5 separate regions of the Homo sapiens genome follow, and regions 1, 2, 4 and 5 are each linked to region 3. Evidence: promoter capture Hi-C in 16 types of primary human blood cells and fetal thymus (Javierre and others, 2016). All regions are on one chromosome and are shown on one strand. The core of a region is centred on a gene start or on the middle of the fragment in contact, and the rest is flanking DNA. Distances in the headings are between cores, read along the strand shown. Region 1 overlaps SDK1 (sidekick cell adhesion molecule 1). Region 2 overlaps SDK1 (sidekick cell adhesion molecule 1). Region 3 holds the start of SDK1 (sidekick cell adhesion molecule 1). Region 4 overlaps SDK1 (sidekick cell adhesion molecule 1). Region 5 overlaps SDK1 (sidekick cell adhesion molecule 1).

What was found. Contacts are between HindIII fragments. The CHiCAGO score rates a contact against its expected background, and 5 or more counts as called.
Region 1: a contact is called between a fragment that was not itself captured here and the fragment with the promoter of SDK1 in region 3, in 8 of 17 cell types (M0 macrophages, M1 macrophages, non-activated CD4 T cells and 5 more). The highest score is 9.1, in M0 macrophages.
Region 2: a fragment that was not itself captured here is called in contact with the fragment with the promoter of SDK1 in region 3 in 7 of 17 cell types (activated CD4 T cells, naive B cells, non-activated CD4 T cells and 4 more); the score reaches 8.6 in activated CD4 T cells.
Region 4: a contact is called between a fragment that was not itself captured here and the fragment with the promoter of SDK1 in region 3, in 3 of 17 cell types (total B cells, non-activated CD4 T cells and activated CD4 T cells). The highest score is 5.3, in total B cells.
Region 5: a fragment that was not itself captured here is called in contact with the fragment with the promoter of SDK1 in region 3 in 14 of 17 cell types (activated CD4 T cells, naive CD8 T cells, non-activated CD4 T cells and 11 more); the score reaches 27.2 in activated CD4 T cells.

Annotation. Positions count from the first base shown.
Region 1 is chr7:3,911,974-3,914,673 of GRCh38, forward strand. All of the region lies in intron 5 of SDK1 (sidekick cell adhesion molecule 1), which reads left to right. Among named protein-coding and RNA genes, the nearest start is that of SDK1-AS1, 560 kb to the left of the region's middle. RefSeq lists an enhancer at 1-131. The HindIII fragment of the contact is 1,452 bases long and covers 579-2,030 here.
Region 2 is chr7:3,872,702-3,875,401 of GRCh38, forward strand. All of the region lies in intron 5 of SDK1 (sidekick cell adhesion molecule 1), which reads left to right. Among named protein-coding and RNA genes, the nearest start is that of SDK1-AS1, 520 kb to the left of the region's middle. The HindIII fragment of the contact is 1,332 bases long and covers 763-2,094 here.
Region 3 is chr7:3,299,866-3,302,731 of GRCh38, forward strand. SDK1 (sidekick cell adhesion molecule 1) reads left to right here and starts at 1,387. Exons shown (of 45, transcript NM_152744.4): 1 at 1,387-2,019. The coding sequence starts at 1,722. It overlaps SDK1-AS1 (SDK1 antisense RNA 1), which reads right to left. Exons shown (of 3, transcript XR_001744897.3): 1 at 2,364-2,866. RefSeq lists enhancers at 1-466, 467-978, 1,688-2,188 and a silencer at 864-1,413. The HindIII fragment of the contact is 8,975 bases long and covers 1-2,866 here.
Region 4 is chr7:3,855,846-3,858,545 of GRCh38, forward strand. All of the region lies in intron 5 of SDK1 (sidekick cell adhesion molecule 1), which reads left to right. Among named protein-coding and RNA genes, the nearest start is that of SDK1-AS1, 510 kb to the left of the region's middle. The HindIII fragment of the contact is 2,581 bases long and covers 61-2,641 here.
Region 5 is chr7:3,890,643-3,893,382 of GRCh38, forward strand. The region is part of intron 5 of SDK1 (sidekick cell adhesion molecule 1); the gene reads left to right. Among named protein-coding and RNA genes, the nearest start is that of SDK1-AS1, 540 kb to the left of the region's middle. The HindIII fragment of the contact is 3,141 bases long and covers 1-2,740 here.

The DNA.
Region 1 (2,700 bases), core at 55-2,554, 610 kb after region 3:
GGCATTCTAGGGAAGGGGCCAACTTGAGCAAGAGCTTGTAGGTGCGGGGGCGTGCAGGGCAAGGGGGCCCTGTTCACTTAGAACAAAGGATCGGCCAAGGAAGTCTGGGAAACAAACCAAACTACAGAGGAGCTTGAGCAGAGTCGAAGTTTATTTTGTTCCCTCGTTGAAGGTTTAAAGCCGAGGAGCTACGTGATGAGCGCTGTGTTTTAGGAAGAGGACTCCGTAATAGAGAGGATGAGCCAGTGGATCCATTTCTAAATGTGTTTCTTAGGCTATAGGAGGAGGAGCTTTCTTTATTTATTCCAAAATTTGCTTTCAGATGCTAATGCGTGTATTGTGAACTCTGAGAAGAGAGAGTTCCAAAATGTATTTGACCACAAAACCTCTTTTTCACGGTAACTGGTGCACAGTAGGCACTCAGTGTTTTTGCATGACCAAATAAGCAAGTACAACACCAGCGTGCCACAGAGTGTGGTTCAAGAAACATTGCATTCTGTGAGGCGCTGAAGCAAGAAGAAAGGCCAGTGAGAGGCTTTGATATTTATCCGGGGAAGAGGTACTGATTGCTCAAGCTAAGCTTCAGTGGACTGAAGATAGGGAAGCCAACCACCCACAACTCCTCCAAATACCTCCCTCTCCCAGGCAGGCATGGCTGGGGCACCCGCTTCTGGGCTCTCCTGCCCCCTGGGCCCACCCCACGGATGGCTTTTCATGCATTTACTTATCATTCTCCTCTGGCAGAGACCGGCACGGTCTGGCCCGTGGGGGCTCAAGACAGTTGACAGAAGGAAGAGGAAGGAGACCTAAGGGACTTGGCAGCTGGGTGGAGAAGAAGACCCGATTTCTTTATTTATACATGGACTTGCTTGAAAAAGATTTCTAGTCCTTAACCAAAAAAAAGTGCAGTGACCTTTCCACTACGACATCTGTTCCCACGAGATGCAAGTCACAGTTTTCATGTAAGGGCTCAAAGCAACCGTGGAGGGCCGAAGGCAAGCAAGATGTGGATCAGGCTCTTGTTTTTCTCTTCTCTTCATCTTCCCCTCCCCTTCTAAAGTGAGAGCTTGTGATTAAGGAGGGTTTAATGACAGGGAAAACAGTTAAAATGAAGAAGGAGTTGCCTGAAGGAAGCATCTGGGAGGTGGGCAGAGCAAGGGGTACCGGGGGCCCTGCCATGAAGCCTTCAGGGCATCGGTATGGAAATGCCTCCAGCTCCTGGCTCGCGCTAAGCGTACCTGGTTCTCTAGATGGCTCCCGGTCTTCTTGCCTCCTGGCCCTTCCCTCTCCCCTCCTCTGACCTTTCTCTTACACTTATCTTTTTTTTTTTTTTTTTTTGAGATGGAGTCTCGCTCTGTCACCCAGGCTGGAGTGCAGTGGCACGATCTCGGCTCACTGCAACCTCCGCCTCCCAGGTTCACGCCATTCTCCTGCCTCAGCCGCTCGAGTAGCTGGGACTACAGGCGCTCGCCACAACGCCCAGCTAATTTTTTGTATTTTTGGTAGAGATGGGGTTTCACTATGTTAGCCAGGATGGTCTCGATCTCCTGACGTCGTGATCCACCCGCCTCGGCCTCCCAAAGTGCTGACATTACAGGCGTGAGCCACCGTGCCCGGCCCTGTTACACTTATCTTTATTCCCCTCATCCATTCTTTTCTCTGGACTATGTTAGTGCTCTGGTAACATCCTTTCCCTCATTCAATCCCAACTCTCCTAAACCCCCTTGAGTATGTTCACCAGTGGTTTATTGACATCCATCTATTCTTGTTCTCTCCAAGCCCAGCAAAAATAAGAAAACATATTTTGGGGTAGACAGATGCTGACCCCTGACAATTTCTCTTTGATTTTCCTCCACATTTTCTCTTTATTTTTTGCTTCACTAACCTTTAAGCCAGAGTAAATAAAAATGACTGGAGATGACTGATTTGCCCCAGATTACACATTAAGTTAGTGGTGATACTAGCGCCAGGGCCCAGGGCTGACTCTGCTATACCATACTCCCTTCCCTGATGGTGCCTGCTTTTCTGAAAGCTTCTTGCCCTATTATAAAGGAAGAAGCATCTACTCCAGATGTTGAAAAAGGTAAGGAGCGGTTATGAAGGCCCAGCCCTGGGGATAGCTTAGCATTTTGCATTTAGTGCAAACCCATTTGCAGCTTTTCCTCATATTTGGTTGAAAGCATTTGCATTATACAGTTCATTTATGCCTTTATCATAATTAGGTGCAAGTTGCTGCTGCAATATGCTTGTCTGCATTATTACCGTACTTGCCTATTTTCATTCCTGCTCATCCTACGTTATTGTGTCTTACTGGGTTCATGTCAAATCTTTTCAATGTGTATAATATTCTGCTTTCGGAAATCAGGAGGGGGCAAAGATTGTTATGTCAAAAATTCAGAGAAAATGAAGAAATGTGTGTACATGTGCACATATAGAGAGAAACTGCATTGAAATCACAGCGAGATTGTGGCAGAAATGAGAAAACCTAAGATTAACGGCTTAGAGGGTTTTTATGCTCCTGGAACTCAGAAATGGTATGTTTGCAGTTGCTGCACAAACATGGTCTAATTGCTGAAGCTATTTTTAAAAAGCACGCTGAAACCATGAAGCTAGGGAAGTTCAAAGGCTTGCTCTTGCATGTGCTCAGTCATCTTTCCCAACTCTTATTGCAAAATGATTTTTTGCTTGAGGACAGAGTGT
Region 2 (2,700 bases), core at 179-2,678, 570 kb after region 3:
TTTTCAAAGAGTAGCTTTTGGTTTCACTGATTTAATGCCTTTTTTCTGAAAACTTTCATCATGGATGCTATAGAGTTCACAATATACATTTAAAAATCTGAATCTACCTCCACATAATGCTATGCTGCTTCACACGGAGTATAAGGACCTTATAACAGTGTATTTCTAATTCCCCTCTCCCATTCCTTCTACTATTATTGTCATACATTTTACTTTTACATACAGTATCAACACACCAGATATTTTTACTATTACAGCTTTAACCAGTCAGTAATCTTTTAGAGAACTTAAAAATAAATAATTTTAATTTACCTTCCTTTATTCCATTTATGATGCTTTTCATGTCTTCGTATTTATCCCAGTCTCTGACCTATATCATACTCCTTTTGCCTGAAGAATTTTCTTTAATGTTTCATGAAGAGTATGTCTACTGGCAGTAAATTCCATGAGATTTGTTTTTGTCTGAAAAGTCTTTCTTTCTCCTTCACTTTTAGAGGATATTTTTACTGGGTGTAGAATCCTGTATTGAGATGTTTTTCTTTAAACATTTGATGTAATTCCACTGTTTTCTTGTTTGCATGAGTTCTGCCAAGAAGTCTGCTATATTTCTTATCTTGCTCCTCTGTAGGCAATATGTCTTTTTTTCCTCTGGCTTCCTTAAATATTTTTTATTTGTCCCTTCTTTTTCAGTAGTTTGAATATCATAACTAGATGTAGAGTTTGTGTTTTGTTTTGTTTTGTTTTGCTGCTTGATGTCCTCTAAGCTTTGATGATTTGGTGTCTGTCACTAATTTTGGAAAATCCTAGCCCATTATTTTTTCAGCCATTTCTTCTGTCCCTTCTGTTTTTCTTTCTGATTTTATAATTCCAATTATGTATATGTTAGGCTGTTTGATATTCTTCCACAGTGCTTGCATGCTCCATTTAGTTTTGTTTGCCTTGTTTTTTCTCTTTGCATTTCAGATTGATTAATTCCTATTGACCCATCTTCAAGTTCAGTAGTCTTTTCAAGTCTGCTCATGAGCCCATCAAAAGCATTTTTAATCTAAATACTGTTTTTCTGATTTCTATCATTTCCATTTAATTCTTTTTCACTTAATTATTTTTATAGTTTCCATTTTTGTGTGAAATTACCCGTCTGATCCTATATGTTATTTACTATTAGAGCCTTTAACATATTAGCTATAGTTGTTTTAAATTCTTTGTCTGATAGGTCCAAGATACATGTCATGTCTGAGTCTTCTTCTGATCATTGTTTTGTCTCTTTGTGGAGTATTTTTCCTTGCTTTTTTTCATATGCCTCATAATAGTTTTGTTGTTGTTGAAAGCCTGTTATGTCATATAATAGGACAGTAGACACTGAGGTCAATATTTTGTGTGGTTGGAGATGAGCATGCTTTTCTTTCCACTGGGCCATTAATATGAAGGTTTTTGTTCGTTTGGTCAGAGATTTGGCTAGGTTTAAAGTTTATCATTGCCATGGTTACCCTCATTCTACTCGAGGCCTAAGTTTCTCTAGTGGAATCATGTGTTCATAGCATGGGATAATTTTTCAGACTTGTCTCCGTATCTGCTCCCCATTTGTCTTTTGAGTTTCCCTGACTTGACTTTGAGTCTTCTCTTTGCACTGGTCCCCTCAGGGAATCTGCTTCTTGCAGCTCCCCTGCTGTATCCTTCAATTATGTTTGCTTAGTGCTTTTGAGTGTGTGCAGGTCATGTGTGTGCAGGGATTGAGGGCATTCTTTTCTGTTCTGATTAAGCCTCAGGCTTAGGCAGGTGCCTGTGAATCTGGGGCCTGAGGCTGTAGTCCTGACAAGTGTTCCTGCTCCTTCCCTACCTGTCATGCTGGGCCTAGCATATATTCCCGCCTCCCTTCCAGGGGTAGAACTCCTTCTCCACCCCCGTTCCCCTGCCCTATCTGCAGTGCGATCCCACCCCTGCCCTCATGCTACAGTTTTTGTTTTGTTTTTTGCTCTTTCTCCTGCATAGTAAGGCTTTCATTCCTTAGGGAAGATGGGGGTGATGAGTGTGTGCAGAGTTTGGTGGTAGCTACCATTTCTTTCTGACCACAGTAAGATTCTAGCAGTGCCTTAAAGCTTTAGTTTTTTGTCCTTCACCCTATAGATTAAAGCTTTTGTTCTTCCAGGAACATAGGGGAGATACGTCTCAGGAGAGTTTTGGCAGAGGTGCCTGTTCTTCCCCCACATCCAGCACCAAGTGGGGGAAGCTGTCTTAGGTTTCTCATTGAGCTGCCCTGAGAGCACCCTTTAGGGTTCCTGGAGGAAAATCCTACTCTAGGCTCTTAACCCCTTTATGTCCTGGTCTGTGGGGCTTTATACACGCTCACTAGCCCATACTTGGCCTTAGGCAGTTTATTCAGACTTCTAGTTGAATCTTCCTATGGGCTTATAGTGAGTTCAAGGTGTCTGTCCCAGATAAGCAAATGGTTGGGTCTGTTTCTCCCTGGAAATGTCTATCTCTTTCTGGATTTTCTAGGTTTTGAGTTAGTTTTTTCCCTGTACCCTTGGTTCTCTGACAGAGTCAAGAAAAGTCATTAGTCTGCACTTCGTCCAGCATTTTTCCTGTGGTAAGAGTGAGAGCAATGTTCTTTCCAGCTCTCTACCTCTAGGAGCTGAAAGCACAAGTTTGCTGTAGCCAGTTTCTGCCACTTACCTTTTAAGTCACTCTCAGAAAACCAAA
Region 3 (2,866 bases), core at 137-2,636:
CTGTCCTCTTCCGGCTCGTCCCATCTATGCGCCCTCACTATATCCTCAGAACAGGGCACTCCGTGGCTCCTTTAACTTTTTTGCCCCTCCTAGCATGGTGTGGAAAGGGGGCAGATGGGAGGCCTCTTTCTGAAACCACCTCCTGTTCGGCGGCTGTACTTGGACCTCAGTTTCCCTGTTTTGTTCACGTGGTCATTGTTAAGTCTTAGGGGACGTGTACAGAGGCTAATATTGAGCCACCAATCAGTTATTTGACAAATACCATAGGCGCTCTGTGAGCAGGAGCTGGCTCCTATCCCAGACCCCAGCCCTGTGACCTGCTCTCCACTCGCCCGGGGTCTTTCTTGGCTGGGACAATAAACCTACTGCATCAGGTGATTCCTGGGGAGTCAGCCCCGTGCTGGGCTCACACCCAGCCCCTCTGCGTTCATCTCTTACATGATCTCATGCGACCATCATCACACGTCCCCAGGCTCCTCCCGGGCCAACTCCAGAGGCAGTGCGTGTCACCTCCAGCTCTCCTCCCACAAAAATGCTGGCCTTTCAGCCTCCAGTGCGCTTAGTTCACCCCATAAACTCTGCTAATGCTTACCACATGCTGAGCGTCGGCGCCCGTCCCCACCCCCAGCCCCACAGGCTCCCGGGTCCCGCCCTGGGAGACCCTCCCACTGGCCGACCCTGCCCCAAGACTCGCCCACTCCACGGTGGGAAACCTGCAATGTGTCCCTCCCTACCCCGCCCTCCTCCAGCGCCGGCCAAAAGTGACCTTGGACGCTTCTACAATGCCATATCCACTCCTCTGAACAGGAGGCGAGTTTGCACCCAGTGGTGCCTTTGGTTGCTAGAAATTAAAAACCCGATTGCGCGTGTTTGCAATTACGGTAACTTGGCGCGTCACCCCCAAGCACTGAGCTAGCTGGTGGTAGCCGGGCGCCTCTCGGGGCGCGCCCTATTCCGCCCTCGGCCCTGGGCTGCCGCACGATCTGCGCGTCCTGCTGCACCTGAGCCCTTCCCACTCGGGCGCCCGCACCGCTGCGGGGCCGGGCGAGGATGCACCACCCCCGCCCGCGAGCCCGCCACGGGAGCGCGTGCCGAATCGACGCCGCCTGCAGTCCCCACTACGGGTCCCTAGGGGGCGCAGCCGGCGCGGGAAGCCGCCCGAGCCAGGCGCCGCGGCCGGCACAAAATTGCAGGCGGGCGGGCGCCGCGACTTTGAAAACAAGCGAGGGCCTGGGGGGCGGGCCCTGGGAGCGGGCGCCGCCTCCCTCGGCCAATCAACGGCGGGCGGCGGGCGGCGGGCGCGGGCGGCGCGTGCGGCCGGGCTGTGAATGGGGAGCGGCGGCCGCGGCAGCTGAGGGCGAGCGCGACCGCGACGTGCGGGCGGGCGCACTTTCTTCTCAGCGCCGGGCGGGGGCGGCGGCGGCGGCGGCTCCTCCGCGCCCGGCGGACCCCTCGGAGCTAGCGCGGCGGGCTCGGGACTGCGTGAGCGCCGGACGCGAATTTCCCCCGTTGACAACTTCTTCTCGCCCGGCTCGTCCCCGGCCCGCGCCGCGCCCCTCACGCGGGGACCCAGGACGCCGCCCCTCAGCGCTGGGCGGCCGCTCACCTCGGGCCGGGGGGCGCCGCGCCTCCCGCGGAGTGGCCGCGCCCGCTCGGAGCCGTCCCGCCTGTCCTGCCCGCCCGTCCGTCCGGCGCGGCGCTCGGGGTGGCGGCTGCTCGGCATGGCCCGGGGCGCCCGGCCCTCGGCGGCCGGTGGCGGCGGCGGCGGCGCGGAGCCCCCTGAGCGCGCGGGCCCCGGGCGGCCGCGGGGATCCCCGCCCGGCCGCGCCCGCCCCTCGCTGGCGCCGCGCCCCGGCCCGGAGCCCTCGCGACCCCGGGCGGCGCCCGAGACCTCCGGCGGGGACACGGCGGGCGCGGGGCGGTGCGGCGGGCGGCGGGCGGCAAAGTTGGGGCCGGGCCGCCGCGGCTGGTGGGCGCTGCTGGCGCTGCAGCTGCACTTGCTCCGGGCGCTGGCGCAAGGTAGGTGCGCGCGGGGTCGCGGGCCGGGGGCGTCGCCTCGGGGCGCGGAGGCGCGAACTTGAGCAGCGAGAGTGTGTCCGGGGTCCCCCCGCTTCCCGGCCCGGGTCGGGATGCGCCTTGCTGGGGGCTCTAGGGAGCCCAGGGGCTCCTCCACGCCAGACTCGGAGGAGAGGGAAACGGAGCCCCGTAGAGCCTGCACCCCGTCTGCTACTTTGCGTTTTATTTTTTTTATACCGCAGTAGCACAAACAAAAATTTTTAAGTTGAGGACCCATTTCTCAGCTCCTTAAAAGGATGCCCGAGTCCCCTTCCCATTGCATGGATGAAAAAGGGGCTGGTCTGTACCTGAGTCTTCGCACCGCAGGGTCTGGTTTCCGGTGAGTGACATCCAGAAGACTTGGAAATATCAAGTGCCAGTCGCTGTGAAAAGCCTTTTCCAGCCCCTCCCCAGGGCCTCGTCCTCTCCCCAGCCCCCGCCTGCTCCTGACTCCCCCAAGTCCCAAAGCCCGACCCCAAGTGGGTGCTGCGCGGCCGGTGGAGCAAAACTTTCAGTGCCCACAGCTTTTGCACTTGGCTTTGTTTTTCTCCCTCTATTGGCTTCTGTTTAGAATACAGTGGTGAGCTCTGAAATAGGGAAAGAGGATCTGCTGAATGGAAATGACCTTTTGAAACGAGAGATGGGATCTCTTGTGAAACGAGCTTTCCTTCCCAAATCTGGGCTTCCCTCCACCCCCTCCCCGCCCCCGACAAAACCCGTAACGTACCCCTGCCAGCTAGCATCGTTTTCTTTTGAAGTTTGCTGGTCTTTAAACCAAAACACCCCCCTCAACCCAGAAATAACTATTTTA
Region 4 (2,700 bases), core at 101-2,600, 560 kb after region 3:
TTTCAAGGGTCAAAATGAAGTGAAGACTATAAGACTTTTTCAGACATTCACAGTCTCTAAAGCTTCAATTAATGAATGGTGAAAGAATTAATAAATGATGTACTCCAGCAGTAAAAAAGCTGCATAAAAATGAATAATAAAGAATTTACTGAAACTTACTGTTAAATCTAAATGTTTATTATTGATAGCATTAATACAGAACTAACATTCCAAGAGTTATCAACCAGAGATTTTGGAAGACTGGGGAGAAGAGAGATGTGGAGTAAGGGAGGAATAAAGAAAATGCATACTAATTTTCTTATCTTGCTCAAGGGAAGGATATGCTTATTGATTCAGTCTAGATACAAGGAAAAAGTAAGTTTCTGTAAATGTTAAAAATTTAAGGGTAGCTAGTAGAAGAATAGAAACTGAATTCATGACTTCCAAACTACTGGAGAAAAAAATAATGTAAATCTGATCAAGAAAATATATGAAAAGAGGGTTTAAAAAATGAAACAACCTAGAATTTTGGCAAAATAAGTGCATAAAATATCAGGTAGTTCAAATAGATTAATAATCTCAGTAAATGTGACTAATTTTGACTAACAAGACTAACTTCAACCCAACTCTAAAGGACAGAGCCTTTCAGGTAATGTTAAAAAAAAAAAAAAAAAAAAAGCAGCTGGCCGGGCATGGTGGCTCACGCTTGCAATCCCAGTACTTTGGGAGGCCGAGGCAGGTGGATCACCTGAGATCAGGAGTTCAAGACCAGCCTGGCCAACATGGTGAAACCCCATGTCTCCTAAAAGTACAAAAATTAGCCAGGCATGGTGGCGGGCACCTGTAATCCCAGCTAGTCAGGAGGCTGAGGCAGGAGTGTCGCTTGAACATGGGAGGCGGAGATTGCAGTGAGCCGAGATCACACCACTGCACTCTAGCCTGGGCAACAAGAGCGAAACTCCACCTCGAAAAACAGCTATGTTATATGCTACTTATAGGATATAAATTTTTTAATTGCATAGTATGAAAACATGTCAAACATTAACCATGTTGATTAGGTTGAGCAACATTAATATAAGAAAACTTAGAATTCAAGGTAAACAGTGTTAAAAGGGACAAAGAGGGATATTTCCTGCTGAAAAGGAAGGCTCTACCAAGAAATTACAAGGCATAATCAGTATACCATAACCAAGTAGATTGAATCCCCGAAAATGTAAGGATGGTTCAGAATTACACTATGAAAAAATCAACTCCTATTAACTGAAAAAAATTACTCTTAGTCACCTGGGTATAGAGGGAAAACTTATCTAAATAGAGGAAATCTAACAAAAATCTACTGGAAACAACATACTGATAAATTATTAGAAGCATTAAGTTTGAAGTCTGAATCTGGGGAAAGATGTCTACTATTAACATTGTACTCAGGACACAGTCAGTGCAGCAGGACAAAATGGAAGGGGAAGGAGGAGGAGAAAGGGGAAAAAGAAACTGAAAAGAAAAAGGTATAGATATTAGAAAAAGAGCAAACTGTCATTATTTCAGGCAATATGATTACTTGCGTAGAAAACCTAAGACAGGCTGGGTGTGACGGCTCACACCTGTAATCCCAGCACTTTGGGAGGACATGGCAGGGGGATTGTTTGTGCCCAGGAGTTCAAGACCAGCCTTGGCAACATGGTGAGACCCCATTTCTACAAAAAATAATAAAAGAAATTAACCACGTGTGGTGGTGCATGCCTGTAGTTCCAGCTTCTTGAGAGGTTGAGGTGGGAGGATTGCTTGAGGCCAGAAGGTCAAGGCTGCAGTGATCTATGATGGCACCACTGCACTCCAGCCTGGCCGACAGAGTAAGACCCTGTCTCAAAAAAAAAAAATGAAAGAAAACCTAAGATAATAAACTGAATATTAGGATTAATGAGAGTTCTGAAGGGTGGCTAGATAGAAGATAGATATGGAAAAATTCTTTTTCCTGTTCATCAGGAATAAGAGAAATTTAATAGAAATACAGTAAAATAGGAACATACCATTCACTGTAGCAAGCAAAGCTATTAAATATTTTTGAATAAACTGATCAAGAAATAGTTAAGAATCTATAGAACTTTAATGACGATTTTTAAAAGGAACAAATAGTGTGATATACCATATACATGGATGGAAAGACTCAATTATGTAAAGTTGTCACCTCTCCCCAAATCTATAAATTCGGTAAATCATGAAACTTGTCAAGATGATTCTGAAGTTAATATGGAAGCCTTAATAATGAATGGTTTAAACCATAGTATATTCATGCTATGGAATACAATGGATTAGTTAAGGATAATGAGGTAAATTTGTACATATGAGAATGGCTACACCTCCAAGATACGTTTTTGTGTGGTGAAAAGAGAAAATTGCTAAACAGTACATATAATATGATATCATTTTTTTAAAAAAACACAAAAGATAAGTCAGGCACCGTGGCACATGCCTGTAATCCCAGCTACTCAGGAGGCTAAGAGCGGGAGGATTGCTGAGCCCAGGAGTTCAAAACCACCCTGGGCCACATAGTGAGACCCCATCTCAAAAAAACAAAACTGCAAAACAATACTTTATATATTTTATTACTACATGTATATACATCTAAGTGAATTCAAAAAATACCCAGGAAAAAAAAATCACAAGAAGCTTAACTTCCTTTCTGGAAAGGAAGGATGAAGACTGAATGTAGAAAAATTTTCAAAA
Region 5 (2,740 bases), core at 121-2,620, 590 kb after region 3:
TTAAAAAAAAAAAAAAGTAGCGGGTGTGGTAGCTCGTGCCTGTAATCCCAGCACTTTGGGAGGCTGAGGCAGTCGGATCACCTGAGGTCAGGAGTTCGAGACGAGCCTGGGCAACATGGTGAAACCCTGTCTCTACTAAAAATACAAAAATTAGCCAGGTGTTGTGGTGGGTGCCTGTAGTCCCACTTACTTGGGAGGTTGAGGCAGGAGAATCGCTTGAACCCAGGAGGGGGAGGTTGCAGTGAGCCGAAAGCACTCCAGCCTGGGTGATATAGCTAGAATCCATCTCAAAACACCATTTATTTTTCACTATGGGTCTACCAGTTGGCTGTGGCTTCACTGGGCCCAACCAGGCCAGCCTAACCTTAGCTGGGCTCTATGTGTTTTACATTTTGGGACCCAGGCTCTGGTGGAGCCATCACTGTCTAGAGCACATCCTTCAAGCACCGGAATAGAACTGGAAACACAGTAGAGACTCAAAGACAGGATAAGCCCAGTGGTACTTCCACTGGGAAAGAGGATGGGGGAGGCCCCACAGTCCACAGCAGTCCTAGTGTCCTGCTGGGCAAATATTTCAAGGACCCGTAGGCTGGGAGTAGGGGGTGTCGATTGGGCCTCAGTCGTGCTCCCGGGGAGGACTTTCCAGGCCGTGGTTTTCGTGGCTCTGAATCTGCCCTCTGCCAGGTGCACTCTTCTGTCATCCTCCATGGCTACCTCTGAGGAAGGTGCTGGAAGACATGCTCTCCTTCATGGCTGAGCAGATTTCTTAACCTGCTTCCTGCCCATAGGAAGGATGAATGCCGAGGATCGTTTTAGATCTCAAATGCCACGGTCTATGTTAATCCAGCCGAAAGTGTAGTTATCGATTTGTCCCTTTTGAAGCTGTCCTGTTTGTTTTTAATCTCTTTGATTCCGGTCAACCCCGTGTGCCTACAGTCATTTTTCGTGCATGTCCTCCTTTCTCTAAACTCAATTCCAAGTACACTGAGCACATCATGCTTCCAACAGGCCAAATTCTGGGTCTCTTTCTCTAGGCCATTTTGTGCAGTTGAAAGATTTCATTGGGGACCTTGATAATCCAACTAAAGGTTTCGGCGCAAGAGCCAATGATTGCATCTTTGATTTGGTCTTTACCCGTAGGCTGTGCTTTCACGGCCAACCTTAATTTGGTGAGAAATTGCTTCACTTTAAAATCCTGAAAATGTTGTATTTTCTCTCTTCCCTTTCAATTGTATTTGCAAAGCAGTGAGTTTTTTGGGAGGAGGCAAGGTGCATTTTTTTTTCCTTATAGCACGGTGTCAAAGGCATTCTATAACACCAGTTCACACAGGCAAGATTCTGTTTTGAAAACAAGTTTAGTTAGGCCAATTTTCTAAGTTATCATAGGTTATTTCTTTTTTCTTTTTCTTTTTTTGCCGGGTGTTTTAACACTGCATATCTTGGGTTGCCATTTTTCCAACTTCCTTTAACAACTTTCCAGCTTGCCATCACCTAAACCCAAAACCAATGACCCATATTTCAGGTTTTTGTAATGGCAGCCCTACTTCTGTGTACCAATTTCTGTATTAGCTTTTGCTGCAGTAACTAGCAATTCTCAAATCTCCATGGCTTCCAACAACAAACACTTATTTTTCACTTAAGAATCCTGCGAGTCAGCTGCAGCTCTGCCGAGCTTGGCTGTGTTCTCCACGTCTCCTCATGCCAGGCTGAGGCTGAATGAGCAGCTGCCATCTGGGCCCTGCTCTTCTCATGCTGGAGGGCAGGAGCTCCGGAGGGGAAGCGGGAACCCCCAGGATCTCATAAAGCCTCTGCTGGGACCTGGCAGCCGTCCCCTCCTCCCACAAGTCATATGGCAAGCCCAAGGTTAATGGGGTGAGCCTGTACCCTTCACCTCCTGGCAAGTCACGATGAGGAGAGGGCAGAGACAAATCATTTTGAACAAGTGATACAGTCTCTCACAGGCATAGATTCCAAAAAGAAACCCAGGAGAGAGTCACCATGCCTCAAATCAAGAACAGCCATATTGCATTTCTATCAAGGCAGAAGCACAGGTGTGACAGTGTGACAATGAACCCTGAGACCGGAGGCCCTCCAGTCCAGGTGGACATCCAGCTATGCAGCCAGCTCAGTGCAGCCGAAAGAACCTGGGAGGCAGTCCGGAAAGCTGAGTTCCTCTTACCCGTATCCCTGCAGCAAGCCACTTTCCCTCTGTGGATCTCAAGTTCCTCTTCAATATTAACCAAGAGTTAAGCAGAATCGTGGGTTGCTTTCGAGGATGCCGTTCTGATCTCTGCCAGCGCACTTCACATGGCAGGGAACAGGCTGCCTTCCCAGGAGGCCGAGCTGCAGTAGAAGGAGCATGAGTTTAGGAATCAGGCCAATTTGAGCGGGAAGCCCAGGCAGCCGTTTACCAGGTGTGGGTCCATCATATACCCTCTGACTCTGTTTCCTCATCTGTGAAGTGAACATCACAGCATCTAACTCTCAGGGCTGTGGGTAGGATAATTATTTTATACAGTGCCTTTTGCTAGGAAATTTTTTGTTGTGTTGAGTCAAAATCTGATCCCTTAACCAGTGAACTCCGGCCCCGGTTCTGCCTCTGCCTGGGGCAGCAAAACAGTGATTAGGAATATGGGCACGGGGGTCATCCCACCTGGGTCTGAATCGCACTGTCTGCTCCTGGTCAGGATGGCCGGGGGGAGGATCCTTAATGCCCCCGCGGTTGGCTTGCTATGCTTAT